Linked DNA regions of Homo sapiens: region 2 is linked to region 1. The links are contacts of gene promoters, found by promoter capture Hi-C in blood cells and fetal thymus (Javierre and others, 2016). All regions are on one chromosome and are shown on one strand. The core of a region is centred on a gene start or on the middle of the fragment in contact, and the rest is flanking DNA. Distances in the headings are between cores, read along the strand shown. Region 1 holds the start of SLC16A2 (solute carrier family 16 member 2). Region 2 has its middle 26 kb from the start of JPX.

The links. Contacts are between HindIII fragments. The CHiCAGO score rates a contact against its expected background, and 5 or more counts as called.
Region 2: a contact is called between a fragment that was not itself captured here and the fragment with the promoter of SLC16A2 in region 1, in 1 of 17 cell types (monocytes). The highest score is 5.1, in monocytes.

Annotation. Positions count from the first base shown.
Region 1 is chrX:74,420,229-74,422,969 of GRCh38, reverse strand. It overlaps SLC16A2 (solute carrier family 16 member 2), which reads right to left and starts at 1,477. Exons shown (of 6, transcript NM_006517.5): 1 at 903-1,477. The coding sequence starts at 1,332. It overlaps LOC105373252 (a long non-coding RNA gene), which reads left to right and starts at 2,322. Exons shown (of 2, transcript XR_007068267.1): 1 at 2,322-2,664. The HindIII fragment of the contact is 8,329 bases long and covers 1-2,741 here.
Region 2 is chrX:73,917,454-73,920,153 of GRCh38, reverse strand. No RefSeq gene overlaps it. Among named protein-coding and RNA genes, the nearest start is that of JPX, 26 kb to the left of the region's middle. The HindIII fragment of the contact is 2,892 bases long and covers 1-2,700 here.

The DNA of each region.
Region 1 (2,741 bases), core at 228-2,727:
AAAGCTGGAATGGCGGGTCTGGCACTCAGGCTGTAGGCCGAACGAGGCACCCCACCGGTAGCAGAGAGGCGCGGGTTGCCGGGGAAGGCAGGGCTGAAGTTGGGGGCGGTGCGGAGTGAGCAGCAGGGCCCAGCCTGCCTGCGGCCTCACGCCTCTCTGGCAGGAGACTGCGGAGACCGCCTCCCCGCCCGCTCTGGGGCTCGGCTCATAGGGCACGGAGATCCATTCACTCCCGCGGGGCGGCAGAGGACTGCCGGGCCCAGCTGGGCCGTAACGGCGGCGGCCAGAGACGCACTCACACCCCGACTCGAACTCCCTCCCTCCCTTTCTCTCTTGCAGACACGCACGCCTGCCATGTGTTTGACTCTTCGCTCATAGTCATCAGGATTCCTAAAGTGTTTTTAACAGAAAACACCTCCGTTTCCCCAAAGGAACCGGGGGGCTGCTGCGGAGATCAGCGGTACAGTGCTTCTCTCAGAGCCCGCCCCGCCTCTCAATTCTCTCCTCTCCTCATGACTTCTCCCCACCTCCAAAAAAAAAAAAAGTCCTGCAAATATTTTCCCCCAGCACACAGGGGCAAAGGTACCTTAAACCTGAAAGGTGCATTTAGATTTGTCCCAGGGCAAAAAAAAGTCCATTGCTTGCCAAGGATCAATGAATGTCCCAGTTCGTACCCCCGGGACGCCTTGCACCTAGTCTCCCCAGTCCAAGCTGCCCAAAGCCCCGCAACCCGCACCCTAGGAGAGCCATGGAAAGGGGCAAGGGGCAAGGGGTAAGGGGTAAGGGGAGGAGTCGGAGAGGCGCGTTGGAGGGGCGCCTCGGACCGGGAGGTATGGGGTCGGTGGCAGCGGGAGCGGCCAACCTTGCCCAAAATGCCAAGTGGGGCGTGCGGGGCCACTCACCTGCTTGGAACTCCACTTGGCGATTTTTTTCCTTTTCCTCCTCTAGCAGCATGGAGTAGAGGATCCCGACAGAGTTATGGATGCCGAAGATGGAGCCGTTGCACCAGGTGGCAGCGAACACCACCACCCAGCCGAAGCCACCTTCGGGAGGCTGGAAGCCGCGCGCGGTGCCGCGGGTCTCTACCGTAGGCGTGGGCTCGGGTTCGTGCACCCGCTCGGACTCGAACTCCAGCTCCGGCAGGGGTGCGGGGTCCGGTAGGGGCTGGGGCTCCGGCTGGGGCTCGGGCGGGGGCACTGGCACGGGCTCGGGCTCGGGCTCAGGCTCCGGCTCAGACTCCGGCTCTGGGCTACCCACCGGCTCCTGCTGTTCCTGGTCTGCCTCCTGCCAGGGCCCCTTTGCTTCCTCGCTCGCCTGGCTTTGCAGCGCCATCGCGGCGGGGGGACTGTGGCTGCTTGGGCCAGAGGAGCCGCTTTGTGGCTGGTACTTGTTTCTGCTGCTGCAGCTGCTGCTGCTCGGAGGGCTGCTGCTGCCGCTGCCGCTGCCTCCTCCTCCAGGCTCCGCGCCCCAGCTGGCCAGCCCGTCCCGCGACAGACGGTCCCTCGAGCCCTCTCCTCCTCCTCCCACGTCCAACCCCCCTCCTCCTCTCCCCATGTCATCTCTCTCTCCTCCCCCTCCTCCACACCCCCCACCTCTTCCTCCCTCAACAGGCAGCCGCTACAGCCTCGCTCTTCTCCCCAGCCCTTCCTCCTCCTTTTACTCGCCTACCTACTCCAGCCGCCACTGCCTCCCCCAGCTCCCTTCCCAAACTACTGAACCCTGTTCTTGCCCGGATGCCCGTTAGAGGAAAAGTTAAAATGGAAAAAAGGAAGCACAAACTATCCTGTTCTCCTGCCCTCTTTTCCCCGCAGGCTCTAGAACCGACACTGATCAACCCCGAGCCTCGGGAAGACCCCTCCTATTTTTTGCTCCCATACCCTCCTTCCTCACAAGCAGCCCGCAACTGAGGTGGCACCGGGGACCCTAGGACGACAGCTGGCCCGCGAGGAACCCCACCCTGCCCTCAGGAGCTCCCATGTCCCTCCTTGGACTTGAGGAGGACGACCTGAGGGGACAGCCTGGGCCTCGGACAGCGGGTGGACACAATCTTCTCGAGCCCGAGGACTCGGCCCCCCGCGGTCCTGCGCACCCCCGGGAGTCTCCCCCTGCCCCCGCTCTTCCCGGCAAATCCCTGGCGGCCTGGGAGGGGAGGAGGCGGCCATGCAGCGAGGCCCGCCCCTCCGGGCAGTCAATCAGGGCTTTGTTTGCGCCAACCTGGAGCCCGGAGGAGCCTCAGAGGGCCGGGTCTGGGCCGGGCCAGGGCCGGGCCGGGTCTGGGCCGGGCCAGGGCCGGGCCAGGGCCGAGTGTGGGCCAGGAGCCGGGCCAGGAAGGGAGGGAGGTGGCACCAGTGGGGGCCGGGCCCAGGCCCAGTCGGGAGCCGAAGCTCAGTTCAAGCTCCTCCCGACAATCTGTCCCGGACTTAGGAGGAACGAGTTGGAGTCGGGTCCAGCCGCCAGTTTGGGATTGGGCTGCCCCGCCCCCGATATCTCGGCTGGGCTGGTCCCTCAGGCCTCGGCCGCGGCTTTTCAGGTGCTGGAGACTCAGCGGAGCTGCAAGCGGACGGATGTCTTCCCAGCACCCACCGCCCCCTTCCGCCCACCTCAGGCATGCAGACATGGGAGTCCCACTGTATGTCGCAGACTGAGGCCCCAGCCCCACTGAGGGTAAGGGAGAGTTTGTTCCCCAGGAAGCGCGCCGGGTCAGGGAGAAGGAAAGGTGGGGGATCTGTCTTTCTGGTGGC
Region 2 (2,700 bases), core at 44-2,543, 500 kb after region 1:
CAAGACAACTGGTTTTCCTGGGTCTCCAGCTTGCAGTTGGCTAACCATGGGACTTGGAGAGAGAGAAAGAGAGATTGACAGAGAGAAATTGGTTCATGTGATTATGGAGGCTGAGAAGTCCTATGATCTGCCATCTGCAAGCTGGAGACCCAGGAAAACCAGTGGTATAGTTCAATCCTAGTCCAAAGGCCTGAGAAGGCAAGGGTGGTTGATGGTGTAATTCTAAGTTTGGGTGCAGAAGACTGATGTCCCTCCTCAAGCAGTCAGTCATAGATTGCAAATTCACCCTTATTCCACCTTCTTGTTCTGTTCATGTCCTCAAGAATTGGATGATGCTTATTCACATGGGGAAGGGCAATCAGCTTCACTCTGTCTACTGATTGAAATGCTAATCTAATCTGGAAACACCCTCATGGACACATCCAGTAGTGTGTCTAACCAAATATCTGGAGACCTATTGATCCAGTTAAGCTGACACATGAAATTAATCATTACAACATTAAATTCTCAAGCCAAACTGTGAAAATCTATTTAACTCATGTAAAACTGAGCCTTAGAAACACAGTCCTGATTTAAGTGCTGGGTGCTAGAAGGTCCTGTTGTTTATGGGCTGAGACATAGGAAGAAAAAAGGAAGAGAGTTACCTTCCACCTTCTTGGGTAGAGCCAGTTCATCAGCAAAATATTCAAATAGGTAAGTTTGCTTTTGGTAGCCCATTGCTTTATAGAGCCCTTCTCCCCAGACCCTTGAATGCCAATACCCTCAGGCTCATCCCAGGAGATCACATTTGTATTAGTTTCTATTGTTGCATGGCAAAAGAATACAAACTGAATGGCTTAAAATAACAGCCATTTATTAGCTCACAGCTGCTATGGATCAGGAATCTGGCATAGCTTAGCTGGATCCTCTGTGGAGGTCTCAAGGCTGAAACGAAGATGTCAGCCAGGGTTGCAGTTCTGATCTGGGTCTCAGGGTCTTCTTCCAAGCTCATTCGGGTTGTTGGCAGAATTCAATGCCTTTCATATGTAGGTCTGAGGTTTCCATTTTCTTGCAAGCTGTCAATTAGTGGCCATTTTCATCTCCAAGAGGCTACCCATATTCCTTTCCACCTATCCCTCTCCATTTTCAAACCAGCAACAGAGAATTTCTCAAGCATCAAATCCCACTAATACTTCAAGTCTCTGACTTCTTCATCTGTGACTAGTTGGAGAAAACTTTCTACTTTTAAAGAGTTTGTGTGGTTAGATCAGACCCACCCAGATGGATACTCTTCCAATTATATAGTCAAGTGATTTAGCATCTTAATTTCATCTGGAAAAATCCATTCACAGCAGTACCTATACTACCATTTGATTGAATAACTGGAACTAAGGGAGGAGACCACCCCTCATATTGTCTTATGCCCAATTTCTGCCTCCAAAAAAAGAAAAAGTAAAAAGTAAAAGGCAGAAATGAAATCCACAAGTAGACAGCCCAGTGCCACACCCTGGGCCTGGTAGTTAAAGATGGACCCCTGACCTAATCGGTTATGTTATCTATAGATTACAGACATTGTATAGAAAAGCACTGTGAAAATCCCTATCCTGTTTTGTTCTGATCTAATTACCGGTGCATGCAGCCCCCAGGCACGTACCCGCTGCTTGCTCAATCGATTACGACCCTCTCACGCGCACCCCCTTAGAGTTGTGAGCCCTTAAAAGGGACAGGAATTGCTCACTCAGGGAGCTCAGCTCTTGAGACAGGAGTCTTGCCGATGCCTCCGGCCGAATAAACCTCTTCCTTCTTTAACTCGGTGTCTGAGGAGTTTTGTCTGCGGCTCGTCCTGCTACAGAACAAGGTGTGTATGCGAAAGGGACTCAATAATCTTGTGGGGCCATCTTAGAATTCTGCCTACTTACACCATTGAAGTCTGCTAAGCCCCACAGAGTGGAGTACCCTTTCTATCACAACTGAAACTCTCAGTTTCTCAGCTATCCTAATATTCACTGTGTCATCAGGAAAAGTAAGCTGATTAATTGCCTTTAAGCAATGAGCACTCATTTGGCAAAGCAACACCAATAAGCAAGGGTCTGGTAACTGCCCTAGTCCTCCTAGATGTTGTTTGTATACATTAAAATAAAGTGCTTATTTATCTCAATGTGTTTCCATATAGTATATCTTCAGGCAGAATTAAAAAGTTTTGAAAATAATTCAAGCTATGTGAGAAAAGATATTTTGGGGCAGAAAGCCATCATATAGTCAGGCAAGACCTATTTGGGAACATACACCTACCCTCTTCCTGTCTCCTAAACTGTTCTGGTCATCATAGCTTTGTCCCTTTCTCCCACAGATTTTCTACAAAATCGTTTTTTTTGTTTTTTTTTCCTGAATAGCTCAACTGCCAGTGTTACTGGGGGGCCTTTGAGAAGGGAGAGGAAAGTAAGAGAGAGGAAAGCAAGAGATGGCAGTTAATTTTATGGAAGTATCATTTTTGAATCAAGCATTTGTAAGTTAGAGATTGTCCAAAATATTATTTCAGAGGCTGTAGGAAGTCTCCTTGCCCTGTAAGTGACTTCACATAACAGTTCACAAATGTCTCAGGGAAACAAGACATAAAACCTCTCTTATCTTTTGTTAGGGCCTTGAGAGCAGAGCTTAAATTCCCAAGGGCACTTGTCATTTCCTGGAGAGGCTTTCTTCATCTTATACAAAGGAAAGGAA